Linked DNA regions of Homo sapiens: regions 2, 3, 4, 5, 6 and 7 are each linked to region 1. Evidence: promoter capture Hi-C in 16 types of primary human blood cells and fetal thymus (Javierre and others, 2016). All regions are on one chromosome and are shown on one strand. Each heading gives the region's core, a stretch centred on a gene start or on the middle of the fragment in contact. The rest is flanking DNA. Distances are from core to core; before and after follow the strand shown.

What was found. Contacts are between HindIII fragments. The CHiCAGO score rates a contact against its expected background, and 5 or more counts as called.
Region 2: a fragment that was not itself captured here is called in contact with the fragment with the promoter of RLIM in region 1 in 1 of 17 cell types (M0 macrophages); the score reaches 5.3 in M0 macrophages.
Region 3: a contact is called between a fragment that was not itself captured here and the fragment with the promoter of RLIM in region 1, in 7 of 17 cell types (fetal thymus, total CD4 T cells, naive CD8 T cells and 4 more). The highest score is 8.6, in fetal thymus.
Region 4: a contact is called between a fragment that was not itself captured here and the fragment with the promoter of RLIM in region 1, in 3 of 17 cell types (total CD4 T cells, total B cells and non-activated CD4 T cells). The highest score is 5.8, in total CD4 T cells.
Region 5: a contact is called between a fragment that was not itself captured here and the fragment with the promoter of RLIM in region 1, in 10 of 17 cell types (fetal thymus, M0 macrophages, total B cells and 7 more). The highest score is 15.2, in fetal thymus.
Region 6: a contact is called between a fragment that was not itself captured here and the fragment with the promoter of RLIM in region 1, in 1 of 17 cell types (total CD4 T cells). The highest score is 5.0, in total CD4 T cells.
Region 7: a fragment that was not itself captured here is called in contact with the fragment with the promoter of RLIM in region 1 in 4 of 17 cell types (total B cells, naive CD8 T cells, non-activated CD4 T cells and 1 more); the score reaches 10.7 in total B cells.

What each region holds. Positions count from the first base shown.
Region 1 is chrX:74,613,265-74,616,039 of GRCh38, forward strand. It overlaps RLIM (ring finger protein, LIM domain interacting), which reads right to left and starts at 1,360. Exons shown (of 4, transcript NM_016120.4): 1 at 1,158-1,360. RefSeq lists an enhancer at 965-1,284. The HindIII fragment of the contact is 9,843 bases long and covers 1-2,775 here.
Region 2 is chrX:76,180,742-76,183,770 of GRCh38, forward strand. No RefSeq gene overlaps it. Among named protein-coding and RNA genes, the nearest start is that of PBDC1, 9.2 kb to the left of the region's middle. The HindIII fragment of the contact is 1,114 bases long and covers 801-1,914 here.
Region 3 is chrX:76,156,585-76,159,411 of GRCh38, forward strand. No RefSeq gene overlaps it. Among named protein-coding and RNA genes, the nearest start is that of PBDC1, 15 kb to the right of the region's middle. The HindIII fragment of the contact is 4,234 bases long and covers 1-2,827 here.
Region 4 is chrX:76,431,887-76,434,639 of GRCh38, forward strand. No RefSeq gene overlaps it. Among named protein-coding and RNA genes, the nearest start is that of MAGEE1, 5.6 kb to the left of the region's middle. The HindIII fragment of the contact is 1,747 bases long and covers 498-2,244 here.
Region 5 is chrX:76,135,440-76,138,610 of GRCh38, forward strand. No RefSeq gene overlaps it. Among named protein-coding and RNA genes, the nearest start is that of PBDC1, 36 kb to the right of the region's middle. The HindIII fragment of the contact is 808 bases long and covers 1,313-2,120 here.
Region 6 is chrX:76,226,686-76,229,776 of GRCh38, forward strand. No RefSeq gene overlaps it. Among named protein-coding and RNA genes, the nearest start is that of PBDC1, 55 kb to the left of the region's middle. The HindIII fragment of the contact is 2,172 bases long and covers 425-2,596 here.
Region 7 is chrX:76,251,577-76,254,666 of GRCh38, forward strand. It overlaps the pseudogene LOC100533728. Among named protein-coding and RNA genes, the nearest start is that of PBDC1, 80 kb to the left of the region's middle. The HindIII fragment of the contact is 2,096 bases long and covers 698-2,793 here.

The DNA of each region.
Region 1 (2,775 bases), core at 110-2,609:
TCAGTCCAAAACACTGCGGTTAATTCTGATTCAGGAAATGCGGGCTCCTTACTTCTGGCAAAAAATCATTGTGGGGTCTTGCAAATGGAAGATGACAATCTGATACAACTGCTTCCTCTTGCCCCAAAATGAAAAAAAAAATGACCTCAATAACAAGACTGCTAGGCCTCAGATTCCCAGACTAACCTGTGGAATAAGTATGGTGAAACTGTCTAGGGAAGGAACGTGGCTGTCTCCTCCATCTTGAAATTAATCAGCATAAGGGAAAAAGGGACCGAGTATTCAGGAAGCAGAAGCCCAACCGGTTAATACTAGTTACTAAGCTATGGCATGCGTGGCAGGTACCGTCTGCAGAAGCAGAGACCCCCCTAGGCTTTTTTTTTTTTTTTTAATGGGGGAGGGATTGAGTTGTTGGTGGATTAAACACAAATTAACTTGAAAATTTGGCCCAATTCCATCCCTTATCCAGGAGAACACAACAAACACCTAACGGCTTTTCCCTCTCTTTTGCGGGGGGATCCTTCCAGTGATACCTGGCAAAGGATATGCCAGGGTTATTCGAGCAAGGGAGTAAACCACATTTGCCTCAGATCCTCAGGGAAGATGTCATCGCGGCCCCAGGGGGCGCCTAATTGGTAATACCCTGCAGAAGGGCTCAAAATGAGGTTTTGGAAATCTAAAGGCCCAAGAGTTGCCAGCATCTCACTTGGGGCAGCCTGATTTTTTACTTCCCTTTTCCCAAACCCAAGCCCGCCATGGAAAACGCGGGGAGGTCAGGGAAGCCTCCAGAGAACAGAGAAGAAAAAGCCTGAGACGTTCTAAGATTCTGACGCCTGAGGCCAAAACTCAAAAACTGCCTCCCCCGATTTCCTAAGGCTCCGGAGGGCCTGGGCTGCAGCTCGCGCGGCCACCGAGAGGAAGTACTACCCACCTCCTTCCCCTTCAAAGAGCCTGTCGACTATACCACTCAACTAAAATGGCAGCGGCGACTACGCCACGGAGCCCCCCGCAGCAACGGGCCTGGGGTCCGGAGGCGGCGCTGAGCCTCTGCCACGACGCGTCACTCGGGCCATTTTGAGAGAACGCGGCAGCCGCGGCTCCGCTGTCTTCCTCTCGCTCTACATCATTTCTCACAGGATTCCCAAGTCTTCACTTACTAGGTTTTAGGGTCAGGATCCGACTCGGTTGGTTCGGCCGCCGCCGCCGAGGCTGCTCCGCACCTCCCTGGCCGCCGCTCTCAAGCCCGCCTCCAATGAGTAGCTGGTTGAGACCCGCCTCTAGCCCAGCGCCTGCTCGGAGACGTTGCTCAGGCAGCCATTATCTTCCCCATTGTTACCAAGCAGCGACAGGAAACGACTGCCCACAACAGGAAGTGATGATGCCGCGTCCCGGCACCGCAGCCCCACTCCCAGCCTATTAGCCAATCCCAGTCGATTCCTCGAAAAGGCTCCGCGGGAGGAGGAGGGGGACGGCAGACGACGCGGCAAGGCGGGCGGCGGTTTGGAAAAGGAAAGCTGTTATGACGCCCACCATGTGACAGGCCCCACCCTCCTCCGCCATTTTGAATTGTGGCGAGAAATTTGCGTTCTGAGAATTGTGGGAACCTTCGCTTTCCCATTTTGAAAACTGAAGGACGTCACGGTCTGACTGCTTGAAGACATTTTCAGAGAGAGAGAAATGTGATATTAGTCTACCCTGACATCACATCAGTTCACACAATCCGTGCAGACCAGTTCAAAAAGTAGCCTGCGTTTTATTCAACATGTATTTACACAGTGCCAACTGCATGTCAAGCACCATTGTAGCTGCTTAGGAAATTAAAATAGACCAAAATTAAGAAAGAAAACAGGCCACGTTCGGTGGCTCACGCCTGTAATCCCAGCACTTTGGGAAGCCGAAGCGGGCGGATCACCTGAGGTCAGGAGTTCGAGACCAGCCTGGCCAACATGGTGAAACCCAGTCTCTACTAAAAATACGAAAATTAGCCGGGCGTGGTGGCGGGCGCCTGTAATCTCTGCTAATCGGGAGGCTGAGGCAGGAGAATAGCTGAACCCAGGAGGCGAAGATTGCAGTGAGCCGGGATCTCGCCACTGCACTCTAGCCTGGGTGACAGAGCAAGGCTGTGTCTCAAAAAAAAAAAAAAAAAAAAAAAGAAAACAGATCAAAATCCCAGTTCTCTTGAGTCTTTATAGGGGCCAGGGACAATAATTTAGAAAAAATCAAACATAAATACATATCATGTTAGTGATAAATGCCAAGGAGAAAAATCAAGGAAGGGGGACAGAAGAGTTCCTTGTAGGGACAAACGGATTCGTGATGTTTAAAAGACTGATAACTTTGAGGCATTAACTCTAAAGTATTCGAAAAAGGGCGGTGATTGTAAAAGGGTGGGAAAATCTGATAACGTTGGGATTTGTAAAAGGGCAGTTAAAGAAGGCCTTTCTTAGGTAGTAATGCCTGAAAGAATTGAGGGAACTCGCCACACAGCATGCCACTCCCATTGTCACAGTTAAAGGAAAACCTTACCCAAGTTTTTAGATTCTTTTCCTTTTCCCAATTTTTCTGTTTTCCAATAGCATGCCAGCTATGCTGGCTTTGTTACGGTTTTTCCAACAAAGCTAACTTCTTCCTACTTCAACTACTTTACCTTTGCTGGAATATTTTACTTTCATATCTTTGCTTTCATCATCCAAGCCTCGCAATTATTAACTTCCTAGAGAAGCCTTCCCTGACCACCCTACCTAAAATAACTTCTTCCTGAAGGCGGAAAAAGGT
Region 2 (3,029 bases), core at 108-2,607, 1.6 Mb after region 1:
CTGAGAAGAATATATATTCTGTTGATTTGTGGTGGAGAGTTCTGTAGATGTCTACTAGGTCTGCTTGTTCCAGAGCTGCATTCAAGCCGTGAATATCCTTGTTAATTTTCTGTCTCATTTATCTTTCTAATATTGACAGTGGGCTGTTAGTCTACCACTATTATTGTGTGGGAGTCTAAGTCTCTTTGTAGTTCTCTATGAATTTGCTTCATGAATCTGGGTGCTCCTTATTGGGTGCATATCTATTTAGGATAGCTAGTTCTTTTTGTTGCATTGATCCCTTTACCATTATGTAATACCCTTCTTTGTCTCTTTTGGTCTTTGTTGGTTTAAAGTCTGTTTTATCAGAGACTAGGATTGGAACCCCTGCTTTCTTCTGCTTTCCATTTGCTTGGTAAATATTTCTCCATCCCTTTATTTTGAGCCTATGTGTGTCCTTGCACGTGAGATGGGTCTCCTGAATACAGTACACTGATGGGTCTTGACTCTATCCAATTTGCCAGTCTTTGTCTTTTAATTGGGGCATTTAGCCCATTTACATTTAAGGTTCATATTTTTAATGTGTGAATTTGATTCTGTCATTATGATATTAGCTGGTTATTTTGCCTGTTAGTTGATGCAGTTTCTTCATAGTGTTGATGGTCTTTACAATTTGGTATGTTTTTGCAGTGACTAGTACCGGTTGATCCTTTCCTTGTTTAGTGCTTCCTTCAGGAGCTCTTGTAAGGCAGGCCTGGTGGTGACAAAATCTCTCAGCATTTGCTTGACTGTAGAAGATTTCATTTCTTCTTCGCTTATGAAGCTTAGTTTGGCTGGATATGAAATTCTGGGTTGAAAATTCTTTTAAGAATGTTGAATATTACCCTCCACTCTCTTCTGGCTTGTAGCATTTCTGCATAGAGATCCGGTGTTAATCTGATGGGTTTCCCTTCGTGGGTAACCCGACCTTTCTCTCTGGCTGCCCTTCACATTTTTTCCTTCATTTCAACCTTGGTGAACCTGACGATTATGTGTCTTGGAGTTGCTCTTCTCGAGGAGTATCTTAGTGGTGTTCTCTGTATTTCCTGAATTTGATTGTTGACCTCTCTTGCTATTTTGGGAAAGTTCTTCTGGATAATACCCTGAAGAATGTTTTCCAACTTGGTGCCATTTTCCCCGTCACTTTCAGGTACACCAATCAATCATAGGTTTGGTCTTTTCACATAATCCCATATTTCTTGGAGGCTTTGTTTACTTCTTTTCATTCTTTTTTCTCTCATCTTGTCTTCACACTGTATTTCATTACATTGATCTTCATTCTCTGATAGCCTTTCTTATGCTTGATCGATTTGACTATTGATCCTTGTGTATGCTTCACGAAGTTCTCATGCTGTGTTTTTTAGCTCCATCAGGTCATTTATGTTCTTCCCTAAACTGGTTATTCTAGTTAGCCATTCTTCTAACCTTTTTTCAAGATTCTTAGCTTCCTTGAACTGGGTTAGAACATGCTTCTTTAGCTCAGAGGAGTTTCTTATTACCCACCCTCTGAAGCGTACTTCTGTCAGTTTGTCAAACTCATTCTCCACCTAGTTTTGTTCCCTTGGTGGCGAGGAGTTGTGGTCCTTTGAAGGAGAAGAGGCATTCTGGTTTTTGAAATTTTCAGCCTTTTTGTGCTGTTTTTTTCTCCTCTTCGTGCATTTATCTACCTTTGCTCTTTGATGTTGGTGAGCTTTGGATGAGGTTTCTGTCTAGACGTCCTTTTTGTTGATGTTGATGCTATCCCTTTCTGTTTTTTAGTTTTCCTTCTAACAGTCAGCCCCCTCTCCTGCAGGTCTGCTGTAGTTTGCTGGAAGTCCACTCCAGACTCTATCTGCCTGGGTATCACCAGCAGAGGCTGCAGAACAGCATAGATTGCTGCCTCTTCCTTCTTCTAGAAGCTTCATCCCAGGGGGCCCCCGCCGGATGCCAGCCGGAGCTCTCCTGTATGAAGTGTCCGTCGACCCCTGCTGGGAGGTGTCTCCCAGTCAGGACACACAGGGGTCAGGGACCCACTTGAGGCAGTCTGTTTCTTAGCAGAGCCCCAGCGCTGTGCTGGGAGATCCACTGCTCTCCAGAGCTGGCAGGCAGGAACGTTTAAGCCTGTTGAAGCTGCACCCACAGTCGCCCCTTCCCCCAGGTGCTCTGTCCCAGGGAGATGGGAGTTTTATCTATAAGCCCCTGACTGGGGCTGCTGCCTTTCTCTCAGAGATGCCCTGCCCCGAGAGGAGGAATCTAGAGAGGCAGTCTGGTTACAGTGGCTTTGCTCAGCTTCGGTGGGATCCACCCAGTTCAAACTTCTGGGAGGCTTTGTTTACACTGTGAGGGGAAAACCACCTACTGAAGCCTCAGTAATGGCAGATGCCCCTCCCCCCACCAAGCTTGAGAGTCCCAAGTGGACTTCAGACTGCTGTGCTGGTTGCAAGAAATCAAGCCAGTGGATCTTAGCTTTCTGGGCTCCGTGGGGGTGGGTTCTGCTGAGCTAGACCACTTGGCTCCCTGGCTTCAGCCTCCTTTCCAGGGGAGTGAACGGTTTTGTCTCACTGGCGTTCCAGGTGCCACTGGGGTTTGAAAAAATATTCCTGCAGCTAGCTTGGTATCTGCCCAAAAGGTATTCCAGTTTTGTGCTTGAAACCAGGTCCCTGGTAGCATAGGCACCATAGGGACTCTCCTGGTCTGCAGGTTGCGAAGACCATGTGAAAAGCATAGTATCTTGGCCTGAGTGTCCTCAGGGCACAGTCCCTCATGGCTTCCCTTGGCTAGGGGAGGGAGTTCCCCATCCCTTTCCCTTCCCAGGTGAGGCAACGCCCCACCTTGCTTCAGTTTGCCCACCGTGGGCTGCACCCACTGTCTAACCAGTCCCAATGAGATGAGCTGGGTACCTCAGTTGGAAATGCAGAAATCACCTGCCTTCTGTGTTGATCTCGCTTAGAGCTGCAGACCGGAGCTGTTCTTATTTGGCCATCTTGCCAGCCACCGTCTAATGGCTTTTCAGAGTACGTGCTTCAGTTATC
Region 3 (2,827 bases), core at 149-2,648, 1.5 Mb after region 1:
ACAGTGCAAGTCACTTGGCACAGCCTAAATAACTCCATCTGAAAGCAGTTGGTCAGTGCAACTGGTGGGCCGGTGGTCAAAACAAAGGTTACTCTTGTGCCACCAGCACCAAGGAGCCATTCTTAGAGATGTCTGGTTATTCCTTGGTCCAGAGCCCTGAATTATCCTGTAGATGTGTCTGAATCAGAACAGAGTAAATACCAAGTTAGCAGGAAAAGCTCATCACTACTCTCATTCCTATCTCTCCTCTGGCTGCTCACCTAGTGAGCTCTGCAGCAATATGCTTAGTAGCCCCAGCCAGGGTGTGATGGCCACCAATGTTATCACCAGGCTTAGACAGAGGAAGGCTTGATGTTATATTCTGACATACAGTGCCATATCCTTACCTGAGAATGGAATGGAATGACAAAGGAGATCTGAATTATGGGTGTGAGAAAAGTTTCAGACAATTCTGAGTGAAAAATTAGTCCAATTCCTAAATGACCAAATTGTTCTGATTAGTTAGAAAAAAAGCACAACGGAGGCAGAAACTTTTCTACATTTCTAGCTGAGAAAATTTAAAGATGGGGCTTGAATTACCAAGTGTTAATAGTATTTAAAAATGTTTTATGTTTCTATGAAAAATTGCTCTGTGACTATAAGAAAGTAAAACAAGAAAGAAGGAAGAAAGGAAGCATTGAGACAGAGTAAACAAAGCCAATGAAGGGAAGGAGAAAACAGGGACGATATATAGAGAAAAAGCATGGGCTCAGTTCATTTTCCTCTTTAAAATCCAGAGCTACCTGCCTCTAAAGTTCAAAGTCTTGTCTATAACATCCTGGTGTTGTGCTTTCTGAGTGGGGCTTTCAGAACTTCCCTTGGGGAAAGCCTATGATGCACTGCAAAGAGATGGGCATGTCTGAGGTCAGTGCACATCCAGTGTGATAGCCCCAACTCACCACAGTATCAAGGAGTTGCAGCTGGACCCACAAGTACTAGGGCTAACATATGCCTATTTCTCCCCCATGCTCAACCTAGGTATCTCCCTTAGCAGATGTGGAGCAAAATAACCTTTGCAGAAAATAATCTTAGAGCTTAAACCTGAGCTATGTCTGGAAAGTCCATGGCATTCTGAATAATCTATAATTTACTGAGCATTTGCTGTATTCTAGTCCCTGTGCTAAGAGCTCATACATTCATGTCTTATATAATTCCATCATTGAAATAAGCACATAAGTCAAATGTGTCTGTAATCTTCACTTTCAAAGTGAAGAAGCCAAGACTCTGCATTTAAGAGACTTGCCTAAGTTCACATAGATAATAAAACTCAGTTACCTCCGAAATAAAAGATGACATAACTTTAACCACAAACCATCATGGCCCTGAAACTATGAGAGTAAGGTTGGTAACTTCCAAGGAGGAGGTGAATTTAAATCTATCCTGATTCCAGATCATTTGTACTGCCCCTGGTATAGTTGGAGAGGTGTCACTCTTTTTCTTTTTCTTTTCTCTCTCTCTCTCTCTTTTTTTTTTTTTTTTTTTTTTTGAGATTGGGTCTCACTCTGTCACCCAGGCTGAAGTGCAGTGGCATGATCTTGGTTCACTGCAACCTCCACCTCCCAGGCTCAGGTGATCCTCCCGCCTCAGCCTCCCACGTAGCTGGAACCACCACGCCCAGCTAATTTTTTGTATTGTTAGTAGAGACGGAGTTTTGCCCTGTTGCCCAGGCTGGTCTCGAACTCCTGAGCTCAAGCGATCCACCCATCCTGGCCTCCCAAACTGCTGGGATTACAGGCATGAACCACCACACCCGACCCACTCTTTTTCTTAAATGCATTCATGCACATGCATATGTACATATGTGCACACACATACTCATATACTAACACAGACTGGTATGGGACAGTCTGAGTCTTATGTGATCCATACTCAGCAGTTAACAATAATTATTTCTGTACCCTTACCTATGGAAGACATTCAATCAAAAGTGGCAATTGCTAAGGTTTTCATGGGAACTTAATGTGTCAGGAGATTTTAACCTTAACCTTAAGATGTATTCACTTCAGGAGTCAAGCGCCTTCCAGCATGGTCACAGGATAGTTTTCATGTCTTTGTCTTCCAGTAATGCTTTGAATGTATTGTCATTAATCCATTCATGCAACAAAAAGTCATGGCACTCCTCTAATATGTGTCAGCCACTGTGCTATTCCTTGGAATCACTATCATTATAATTACTACTGTCTTTTTTTTTTTTTTGGTAATGGTCAGTTTTAGTATAACAATATATCTCACTAGGATGAGTGCATTATAAGAGGGTACTGTGCATTTTTCATCACTACATGTCTAGGTCTTAGACACATATGGACATAGCTCTGAGTAGGCGATCAACAAATATGGGGGATTAAATGACAAATTTCATGGGGTATATAGCGTATGTAAGAAATAAGGAACACTGGAGCCCTGGCTGGCAAGATGGCCAAATAAGAACACCTCCAGTCTGCAGCTCCCAGCGAGATCAATGCAGAAGGTGGGTGATTTTTACATTTCCCACTAAGGTACCCAGTTCATCTCACTGGGACTGGTTGAACAGTGGGTGCAGCCCAAGGAGGGTGAGCCAAAGCAGAGTGGGGTGTTGCCTCACCAGGGAAGCGCAAGGGGTCCGGGAGCTCCCTCTCCTAGCCAAGGGAAGTCATTAGGGACTGTACTTTGCACTTAGGCCCAGATACTGTGCTTTTCCCACAGTCTTGGCAACCCACAGACCAGGAGATTCACTCTGGTGCCCACACCACCAAGGCCCTGGGTTTCCAGCACAAAACTGGGCGGCCATTTGGGCAGACACTGAGCTAGC
Region 4 (2,753 bases), core at 121-2,620, 1.8 Mb after region 1:
GTCCACCTCAGCCTCCCAAAGTGCTGAGATTACAGGCGTGAGCCACCGTGCCCAGCCAAGATGGGGTCCCTAATACAATCATGAATTAAACTGATTCAAGGCTGGATTTCAGTCTTTATGTGTGCTGGTAGGAAAAAAAGTCAAAGATGTAAGGCCAGAGAGCAGGATATATTGTGTCATCAATGGTTTCAATAAGATACATGAGCCAGCTTTCTCTAAGTTATGCTGTGGGTTTTTAAAAAATACCCAAATCTCAGAGGCTTACAACAACAAAATTTTGGGCTCATTTTACATCCCTTTCATGGGCTGTCTGTGATTCTGTTTATATTGTCTTCCTTCAGGTAACCAGGCTAAAGGAGTAAATCATATATGGGACACCTGTTCTTGTGGCAGAAGTAAAAGAGCCATAGTGGAACCATGTGATAGTTTTCAAAGCCTATGCTCATATATGGCATATTGTAGTCATAATCCATTGGCAAAAGCAAGTCACATGGGCAAGCTTGATGTCAATGAGCTGGGAAGTGTACTCCTTCTACAGGGAAGAACATATAGGAATGGGCCCAGTAGAGAGGAAGAACATATATTTTTGAATAAAAAATTAGTCTACCATATAAGAATTTGGCTTTAGTTGTGAGTGAGATGGAAAACTATTTAAGGCTTTTGATCTGAGCGATGGCAGGAAACCACTTAGTTTTGACAGGATTCTTTTGGCTCTCATATTGAAAAACTAAAGGGGGTGGGGAGGGCAGAAACTCTAATTTTAGCATAGTAATTTCTTCTTAATGTACCTATGAAAAGAGGTGTTATTTTCTGAACAAAATCAAATTTAAAGAAATTGAAGTCAGAAAGCCTGTTATCTTTTAAAAAACACCTTGGAAATCAAACTCCGTGGTATCAAGGTTAAAAGGCATTAGAACATAGTAGTAAGAGCATGTAGTCTAGAGTCAAAGTGCCTGGGTACAAACCCTGGCTCTCTCTGATACTAGAGATGAGAACTCAGGCAAGTTACTTAACTCCTTTGTGCCTCCATTTTTTCATCTGTAAAATGGGCATAATAATTTCACCTACGCCATAATGTTGGGGATTAAATGTGTTAACATGTAAAACACAAGAGCACTTGACATGTAGTTAGCAATATATAAGTGATATTGTTGCATGTTGATTTTTTCCAGGAATGAGACTGTGAGTGATTTCCTTGCAGAAATTTTACTGGGGAGTTGTTTTGGGTTCAACAGGTGTGGGGAGCAAGAGAAGCAGAATTGTGTAGAAAGAGAAGTCGAGCAGTGATTCAGTCACAGCAAATAAATTAACTGATTCCACAGGGAGCTCTGGAGTTGGTGTGGTCCTGCAGAGTTGTCCCAAATTAGGAAAAAGAGGCCAAAGTTTTATCCCACCATACTCACCAGTCGTTGGATGCAAACTGCCTCCTGGTAAGGGGCTATGACTTTTTGAGAGTCAGTTCTTTTCAGCTGAGAGTAATCCCTGAGAAAGGTACTCAGCTGTAAACACAGCAGCTGTCATCACCCTCAAGAGCTGGAGGAATGAGTAATGTGATCCTGAAGAGTAGGAGCATCTGGGTGATACATCACAATCTCCACTACAGTTGTTGCTGTTTTTATTGGTTTCCTTCCCCTCCCCTCCTACTCTTTAATAATAATTCTTCCTCTTCTTCTTCTTTCTCTTCTTCATCATCCTCATCTCTTTCCCCTTTCCTCTTCCCACCTTCTCCTCCTTGTTATTATCACTATTACTATTGTTATAATCTAAAAGAATTACATATCTTCTTATATCATTACTAATATTTTTTTTAAAAAATCTGTAAAGATTACATATATTCTTATTGTTCTGCCTGGGATATAACACCCACATCACTGAATCGTTTTACTCTTCGCACAACCTTCCTGAGAGAGAGGCTCTGATAATAGAGCTTCATTTACTTCTTAAGTTCTGTATTAGTTCTCTATTCTTTTCATGTTTCTTAGTAGACTTGTGTGTTATCCAATTGTTGCCAGAAGATGTTACCTAAGCAAGTTTCTTGGTTGTTTGTCATTTAAATATTGCGAACTATTTTTCTCTCAGATAAACTTGACCAACATGCACAAACATTCAGAATATCCCACTAAAGACAACCAAGGAAGAAAATACGTTTTTTTTCATGCATTTCTCTCAAAAGTAACCATTTTGGTCTCAGAAAATGTCTGATTAAATGTCTTTGTTCAAATGCACCTGTTAGATTAGGATGCAAGCTTTTGTTTCAAGATTCCATGTGTTCAGTGGAGGGTCGTGCTCTCATGATTACATGAATGTGTACTATTTTTTAAAAAAGGATCTTGTCATTCTGCGTTAAGGTAATGATCATTGACTTGTGTCAAACCCTGCAAAGAGCTACAGTCAATGTGACTGACTAATTGCTGTACTCATCTGTGGTGGAATGGAAAAGCTTCTAAACTTCACAGGAGAAGTCTCTTCTCTTTATGTAGAGAGAAATCATGGGTGGGACTCTGGTGATTGTCTTCACATTGTTATTCAATCTTGCCAATGAATGGTTCTGTAAGATTTCCCCTTTTGCCTAAGAAGTTATGTAGCCACTTAATCTAATCTAAGTAACTGCTAAAGTTCTCTAGGTTATCCACATATCTCAGATGATGACTCATCAAAATTGATTAAAAACAATTATTTCCCCAAAATTGAATTTGAGATACAGCCTTAAAAATTGGTAGATTGAACAGAAAGGATGATTATGGAAATTCACA
Region 5 (3,171 bases), core at 467-2,966, 1.5 Mb after region 1:
TGCCTCAGCCTCCCCAGCAGCTGGGACTACAGGCGCACACCGTCAAGCCCGGCTATTTTTTTTGTATTTTTAGTAGAGACGGGGTTTCACCGTGTTAGCCAGGATGGTCTCGTTCTCCTGACCTCATGATCCGCTCGCCTCGGCCTCCCAAAGTGCTGGGATTACAGGCGTGAGCCACCGCCCCGGGCTGATTGTCTTTTTAAAATAAAACTTACCGAAAAGGTAATATATTTCATGTATCAAAAACCAAATAGAAGAAGCATAAAGTATCTATTCCAGCTTAATCTCCCATCTCCCCAGTTCCCACCTTCTCCACCCACACAGTTAACTATTTTTATTCATTTCTTCTGTAAACTTTGTGTGTGTTTACATAAGGAGATAGCCCCCACCCACTTTTTCATATAATTTGTAGCATACAATATACACTTTTTGTTTCTTTTCTTTTCTTTCTTTCTTTTTTTTTTTTTTTTTTTTAAGATGGAGTTTCCCTCTTGTTGCCCAGGCTGCAGTGCAGCGGAGCGATCTCGGCTCACCGCAATCTCTGCCTCCCGGGTTCAAGTGATTCGCCTCCCTCAGCCTCCCGATTAGCTGGGATTACAGGCATGCGCCACTATGCCTGGCTAATTTTGTATTTCTTTTTTTAGTAGAGACGGGGTTTCACCATGTTGGTTAGGCTGGTCTTGAACTCCCGACCTCAGGTGATCCACCCGCCTCGGCCTCCCAAAATACTGGGATTACAGGAGTGAGCCACAGCACTAGGCACAATATACACTTTTTAAGTCACTTAAAATATATCTCACTGGTCTTTCCATGTCAGTACATTGAACACTTCCTTGTTATTTTTTGTAGCTTCATTGTATGGTTGTACCATAATTTATTTAATGTGTTGCTCTGATGATAGACATTAAGGTTTTGCTCTTACAAACAATGCTTCAGTAAACAACCTGGCACATATTTTTTTAAAATATATACAAATACCGGCATGTCTGTGGGATAAATTTCCAGAGGTTAATTTGTTTTGTTAGAGCCTTATGCATTCATAAGTTGATAGACGCCCTAAATTGCCTTCAACATGTGTGCCAAATTATACTGTCACCAACAATGTGTCAAAATTTCCCATAGCCTTGCTAACAGTATTTTATCAATTTTTTGGGTGAATTTTTTTGTAATTACAATTGGTGAAAAAATAGTCACATATCTTTGATTTTTAGTAATGGGTTTCCAGCTTAAAATGGTCTTTAATAAGCAGTACTTGATGTTGCCTTTCTTGGCTTCTGACTAATATACAAAAGAAGATCCAGAAGAGGAGGAAAGCTTGCAGTAACTCTGAAAAGTAAGACTGAGAATGAACCCATTGCCAGAATATATGAAACATTCCCATAAATTCTAAATTGAGTGATGTAGTACCCAATTATTGAATACTCACTATATGTGGAGGAACGTATATCTGTCTGTGTACACACACACACACACACACACACACTTCATCATTTCTCCCTTGGAACTCTTCATAATGATCCTGTGAGGATGTGAAATTATGAGCCATATTTGACAAGTGAAGAAACTTTGTCTTGGAAAACTGAAGTGACTGACTTGCCTAAGGCCATGTAATAAGAGGCACATCTGAGGTTCAAACACAGGCATGCCAGACTCCAAACTATAATAGAACTCTTTTCAGTATTTCACATGCTTTATCCCTCTCACACTTTGATTCCTGGCTCAGCAACAGAAAAGTTATACCAGTCAGAAAATTTGCCATCTCCCTCAAAACTTTATTAGCACTGATATCTGAGGTAGTTCAAAACACCTTTCCTTTTTCTATTCCTTCCCACAGATAGTATCTTCCTTTCTATGTCAATAAAGAAACTAGAAGTTGGAAACTCAAAGTGTATGTGCAAGATAGGAGGCTAGATGTAGAAGTGACAATAGGGTTGCAGCTGGCAGCCCATTGCATTCTGGCAAGTGGAGAAGATAACCCAATATAATAATAATGGTTAATATAGATTGAGCTTTTACAGTGGTCAGGGACTTCGCTAAGTGTTTTCCAGGCATTAGTTTATTACAGCAGATTCTTGGGGTAGGTAATATTATTATTCCCTCATTCTAGATGAGGAAATGGAAGCTTGAATAAGTGAAATTACTTGCTGGGATGTTTGTAAAAAGATCTTTGCTCTGGAAGTCAGGAGGCTTCTGTGATACTGCTGCTAGTTTACTTTATAATTTTGTATAAGTGGCTGTCCCTTTCCTTGCTTCAGTGTCTGAACCTGGAATTTTTTATGCGGTTTTTGAGACTCTAAGTTCATTGGGGTGGAATTTGGAAGGGTGGTCAAGCATGAATAGGACTAGAAGGGAACACAAATATTTTTTGCTCAAGACATTAGTCTCAGCTGTACCTCCATATGTCTTTTCCCTGCTTTACCCCTTCCTACTTGTTCTCTTGCTCATGGCACTCATTCTCTTCCCTAGTTGTAGATTTAAGTTAAGTCCAGTAGGAACTTGACACACTCAGAAAATGGATGAAAACCCAAGGGGATGCTACTTTTGGGACCATTGTCTGAGCTTTTTTGGGTTACTGCCACCTGTCACAGTTTAAGAGATGTGGAGAGCCACTCATGGCTGTCAGAGGCTGTGTCAAGGAAACAATATTCTGGTAATGATTTTTATTTACCATGAGGGTTTGGTTTCCTCTTCTGGTGTCTACTTGGACTTCCCTAAGAATTAGTTACCTTGGTTCTTGGGCTTGGCATCAGCCCACAGAGCATGGAGCCAATCAAGTACCATAAGTCCTGCAGAGATTTAAATTTCCTGGTGGCAGCATTTCTGGCACAGGCTTATGTTTTCCTATGGTTACTTAAGCCCTTTATTAATGCACTCTGAGTTTCTCTCATGGTTTGGCTCCTCAAGAAGTCAGGCAGTAGCGTTCAAGGTATGGGGAAGGTATCAGGTCAAGACAGAAATATTTGGCAGCTTTAGGGATTTTCTGTTTCCACTCTTAAGGTGTGCCCTGAATAAGAGCTGTAGAAGAGTCATCTGGGGCTGACTTCTTTGAGGCCCCAAAGAGTCTGGCCTGGGCTTCAAGGAATCTGAGTCCTAGGGTATGCTCAGCCACGAACTCCCTGGGTGACCTTAGGCAGACAAATTCATTTCCCTGAATCTCTGTTTCCTCAAACA
Region 6 (3,091 bases), core at 261-2,760, 1.6 Mb after region 1:
TGCACCCAGGGCACATGTGGAATGCACTTCTTACAGTACGGTGCACTGAACAGCCATTCTGATTTGACCTCTCTTTTGGCCTAGAAACAGAGCAGGTCCTGCTTTCACCATTTTTCTTTGGCTGTTTTCAGGATTTTTTCTCCCTTCAGGTACTTGCAATGTTTTCTGTGGATTGAGGTGGAAACAAATCTTTAGGATCCCAACATTGCAGGGAAGCTCATTGTCAACATCAATTTCACTTTTTTCTAGTATAGTAACTGAGTTATGGGAAAATTTTCTGGATGCTTGGTGTCTGGCAGAATGTAGGATGGGCATCAGAGCTATATTCAATTATCTTACTATCTGTATGAAGTTTTTTCACTTCTACTTGACCACAACATCTATTTTATCCTCATATTTGAGTTCTGGAATTTTGCTGTTGATAAGCTTGGCACTGCATATTTGGTTTTGATTTTCTGGTAGTGGGGAGAGAAGCCTGCTAGCTTCTACTCTACCATTTTGGTGATGTCTCTACATAAAAGCATTTGACAAAATTTAACATCCTTTCTATCATGATAATAAGAAATATCTGAAAGTTTTTATTCTCAGATTTAGTACTAGGCAAAGATGATTTTTCTCATCTCTTTTATCCAATGTAATACCAGAAATACAAACCAGAGCAATCAAGCAAGAGAATAAAATAAAGTTCATCCAAGTTTGAAATGAAGTCAAATTATCATTGTTTGCAGATGACATGATCTTATAGTTGGAAAATCCTAAAGACTCCACTAAAACATTGTTAGAGCTGATAAATTAAGTAAAGTTATAAGCAACACAATTAACATACAAAAATTAGTAGCATTTCTATACATAAGAAAGAATTTAATGAAACAATCTTATTTAAAATAGCATAAAATATGTTGGAATAAATTTAACCAAGGTGGTGAAAGACTTGTACACATAAAACTATAAAACTTTGTGAAAAAAATTGAAGATGACACAAATAGATGAAAAGTTACTGTGTGTTCATGAACCAGAAGTATTAATATTGTTAAAATATTTTTACTGCCCTAAGCAATATACTTATATTTGTGTGAACCATGGAGAAAATGGAACAAGTATAATGTTGACCTGAAATACTAGCAACCTCTATTGATCTGTTGCCAGATGGAAAACAAGACATTTCCATGGAAATTGCAGAGTAAGTACCACCAGTGTCTATCCAAAAAAGATATATTAACCTACATTTCCATGGAAATTGCAGAGTAAGTACCACAAGTGTCTATCCAAAAAAGATATATTAACATAAGGAAAAGTTATTGAGACATATGATTCACCAGTTTTTATTTCCAAGATTTTTAAATCTATCAGTTTAGAGCCAATTGTAAAGTTTTCTTAGCTGAGGGTTTTATCCTTCTATTGGCTTTACTGATTTTCTTATTCCTGAAATTTATTCATCCTGTGGTATTTTTATCTATAGATTTTCCTAAAATGTTCTTTTTTTAAAAATAACATATAGTTTTCTTTCCTTTCTCCCTTTATATATTGACAAATATAGGAATTACTTCTGTTAGTAAAATGTTCTAATTGAGTGGTTAAAACAGTAGTTTTGCATTTCTTCTTTATATTTCTCTAGATTGTCCCCAAACTGAATAGCTGCTGAGCAATAGTCTGTCCTTGTCATACTGCCATTTTTTACTCAACCTGGGTTTGGATAGTTGTCAAGATAGCCAATACTCAGTTTGCTAAGACTAGAGTGCAGTTTTGGTCCTCAACTCTGTCCATGCCAGTGATTTTTCAAAAAGCCTCAACAAACCACTTATAGAAATCAGTGGAGGCACTCGCCCTTTTCTGGGTACAATGCTGTAACATTTTCTAGCTCACCTTTGTAGAAAGCCTTCAAGTAAAGTCACCAAGAAATCCCTTCAGTGGGCTGCTAGTGCACTTAATTCTTCTGTAGTTGTAGGTGGTGGTGGATAATAGCCCTCTCTTGGTCACAGTGACTTTTCATGTAGGGGACCTATTTTTAGACTGTCTACTTGTTGCTAGAAAGTCTGCTGATTGCAAAATCTTCTACAACAACCAGTGTAAGCAACCATGCTTGGGTCTGTAAACACAAAACATGCTGTGCAGTATTTCTGCAAACTTCTATGAGTCTTCCAGGTCACAGAAAAAGAAGTCTTTAGATAATTGATACCAACCAGTGAGAAAAGCATGTATATTCTTTTTCTTTTCTTTTGTTTTCTTTTTTTTTTTTTTTTTGAGACAGAGTCTCGCTCTGTTGACCAGGCTGGAGTGGAGTGCAGTGACATGATCTTGGCTCACTGCAACCTCTGCTTCCTGGGTTCAAGTGATTATCTTGCCTCAGCCTCCCAAGTAGCAGGGATTATAGGCACCTGCCACCACGCCAGGCTATTTTTTATTTTTTTATTTTTTAGTAGAGATTGGGTTTTATCATGTTGGCCAGGCTGGTCTCAAACTTCTGACCTCAAATGGTCCACCCACCTCGGCCTCTTAAAGTGCGGGGATTACAAATATGAGCCACCGTGCCTGGCCACACATGTGTATTCTTAATTAATTTACCCCCGATGGGTGTGGGTAACCTCTCAATGGCATAAGCTTTGTTGGTGATCTGAATATAACGGATTGATTTATTTTTTGTCTAGAGAAAGAAAAAATATAGAGTTATATGGCACTTTTGTCCCCTTTTCTGTATTAGTGAGCAGTCTAATACCTTTTTTCTCTTTTTTTCAAGTGACTAATAAAAATACTCTCCATCATTCTGCCTATATATGAAGACACAGCCTGATCTTCAAATTATCAATTATTCTGTGGTCATGTTTATTTTTTTATGTCTGTTTTCCTAGCTGTATGGTGTGTGAATGAGAACAGACTCTTGGATGTGGAATCTGGGCTCAGATATGAAGTGGACTTGGCTAGGTCATAAAGCACACAAACCCATGTCCTCATACAGAGCAGAAAATGTACTACCAATGAAACAGTTTGTGCCCTCATTTATTTTTTTTTTCAGGGAAATCCACTAATGAAGTAGCCATCTGAAATATTAGCATCTCTCTATTTTTTTAAAGTAGTCAGATTAATGCAAGGACAT
Region 7 (3,090 bases), core at 496-2,995, 1.6 Mb after region 1:
TGTGTAGTTCTGCCTCTATTCTCATCCAATCTCTGGGCGACACAGGATAAGTTATCTCTGGTGTTTTAGAAGAAGAGCTAGTGCATAACCAGCAGTTGTTGGAGTAAGGAAATTCTGTGCTTTGAAGCAACTGTAGTGCTTTTTCCAATTAAGAAAAATCAAGATGGTACTGTGCTGCTAGTAAAGAGGTGAAAATGAGAATTAGCAGGAGTGGGCCCATGGTGCCATAATGAGATTGTGAAAAAGAGAAATTAGTAACAAATCAAGTTGTAAAGGGAATTGCCCGAAAGTAAGTTAAGGTGAAGAAAAATTAGCAACAAAGTAGTTTCTCTTGGGACTTTGGGGGGGCATACAGGTTAGGGTTAAAATAAGGTGAATAAGTGATGCTATTGCAAACAGTATTCCTAATATTGGAATTATATTACTTTGAGGTGAAAGGATCTGCGGAGGCATTGGTTATCTTTCCATCTAAAGAGGAATTTCAGATCCTTCAATTGTTCACAATGTATTCTGGAGTTGAAGTCGTTGGATTCAGTTCCAGTGTTTAAGGGCCTTTCCAATACTTCACTCAGGTGTAGTGTATCCAGCTGCTAATCTCTGTTACTTTAATGGCCGTGAGGGTAGAAATAGAAAATGCAACAGTAAAGGGTCTCTCTTTGACTGGAGTTAGTTGGGAATTTGGGGTTCTATTCTTCCAAGCTTTGAGGAGAACCAGTGAGTTTGGAGGATATAGAGGTGGAGATTTTTTCTCTTCTAATTTTGTGTTTGTTTTTAACCCATATTCCTGGAGGGCTTGATGGAGGTCTGCTAGAAAAGAGACATACTGGTTGATTTTAGCAGTTTCTTCATCTAGCAGTAAGTCAGAATACAGGAATGGCCTAACATATAAGGCCTTGAAGGGGCTTAATTGCAAAGGGGTCTGAGAGGCAACACAAATCTGAAGGAGAACTAAAGGTAAGAGGTCCACCCATGTCTGTACTGTTTCCTGACAGAGTTTATTGAGGATGTGTTTGAGGGTTTAGCTAGTTCTTTTCAGGTTCCCTGAAGATGGTGGTCTCCAGGCAAAGTGAAGGTACCCTTTTATGCCTAGGCAGAACTGACCTGCTGATTCGTTTGGGAAATTAAGGATGGACCATCGTCTATTTGCGGTGACCTAGGAAGCCTGAATTGGGGAATGAGTTCCCTTAGGAGGAATTAGCTGCCTCTTGTGTCTTTTCAGTCCTTGTGGGATAGGCCTGTACCCATCCTGTGAAGGTGTCTACACAGACCAAGAAGTACTTATGCCCGCAGCATGTGGTGAGCTGAGTATAGTGCAACTGCCAGTCCTCCCCAGGGTATGTACCTGTCCTTTGGGTTGGACTTGGGGGCTTCCCTCTTTGGGGATTACTTATGATGCACAAGTTGAAAGGTTGACAAACATGTTGAATAGTTTTGTTTATTCTCTTCCTATCTACTTGATATAGTTTGGATCTGTGTCTTAACCAAATATCATGTCAAATTGTTGCAGATGAGGCCTGGTGGGAGGTTGTTGAATTATGGGGGTGGATCCTTCATGAATTGTTTAGCATCATCCTCTTGGTGGTGTTCTTGTGAAAGGTAGCTAGCCTTTTTGTACAGCCTGTAGAAGTATGAGACAATTAAACCTCTTTTCTTTATAAATTACCCAGTCTCAGGCATTTCTTCACAGCAATGCAAGAATGGAATAATACACTACTAAACATTAATTTACATATTTGCCGTAGATTGTCCTTTTCAACGTGGCAGGAGTTGTGTGAACTCGTGATGACCTTCTACCCTTGGGAGGCCCTTGGTAGATGGAGAAGTTCCCCAAGTTTGTACCATTTATTGGTTTCTTTTTGATACCTACGTTGGGTGGTTCAATTTATTTCTTCCTGAGTGTATTGGAGAGGGGATAATTCAGTGGGGAGCAATGGGAGTAAGGCCCCAGGTAAGTATCCTTTGAGACAGCTGCCTCTTTAGTTTGGGGTTGGTCATCCTATTTTCTTGTGCAGTTTCATTGGAGCCCCTCTGGTGTCTCTCACAGGGTACTACTGCCACCTCCTGGGTCAAGTGAACAGCATCTAGTAGATCTAAGATTTGGGATCTGTACTGCCCTTGTCAACGTGATGAGTTCCACTAGTTGTGCTGAGGTCCCCACGGGACAGAGCTTTTATCTCTATGACTTGGGAAAGGGACACTATAAAGTACCCTGCATGTCTAGCTCTATTCCAGATAAAACTACTCCCATCTGAAAATCATATTTTGTTTGGATTGTCCAGAAGCTGATCCTCTAAGTCCTCCAAGCTGGCATAAATTTGGTTAAGTATTTCACAGCATAAATGTGCCAGGTTATTGTTTCCTGGTAGTGGAAGTAAGGTTGGCTGAGTTGAGGATGGAGTACCGCTAAACTGTTACCTGTGGGTTTTCTAGTAACAGGCCCTGGTACTTCAACAGTTTGTTGTCAGTGAACCATTGTGGCCCTTTTATGTTCAATAAGGGGCCTGTATGGTGTGATGGCAGGATCTGGATTAACTGTCCCATGGTGATTTTGAGGGCCTCCTAGTATAGGAGCCCTGCTGCACTCACTATCTTGAGGCAGTGTGGTCACCCTCATGCAACTGGGTCTAGGTTCGTTGAAAAGGTACCTACTGGAGATTTGATTAGCCCTATGGTTTGAATTAGGACTCCTAAGGCTACAACTTGTCTTTCAGTAACAAAAAGCTGAAATGGTTTGGTTAGTATGGGTGGTCCAAGGGCTAGAACTTGTGAGAGGGCAGTTTTTAGCTGCCTAAAAGCTTGCTCCTGATATTTTCCCCAGAAAAGCGAGTTTCTATTAGTCATTTTTTTTAAGTCTGATTAAGGACTTAACAATTCTATCATACCCCGGTATCCAAAGTCTGCAATATCCTGTGATTCCCAGAAAGGCCTGAAGTAGCTTTTGGGTGGTTGGGGTAGGTATTTTAAGGATGACCTATATTCATTCTGGGGAGAATTTAGGATCTCCACAGGTCAGGATTATCCCCAGGCATTGGACCTCTTGTCTTAGTAGTTGTGACTTGGATAGTTGGACACTTCATACCCTCTGGGTAT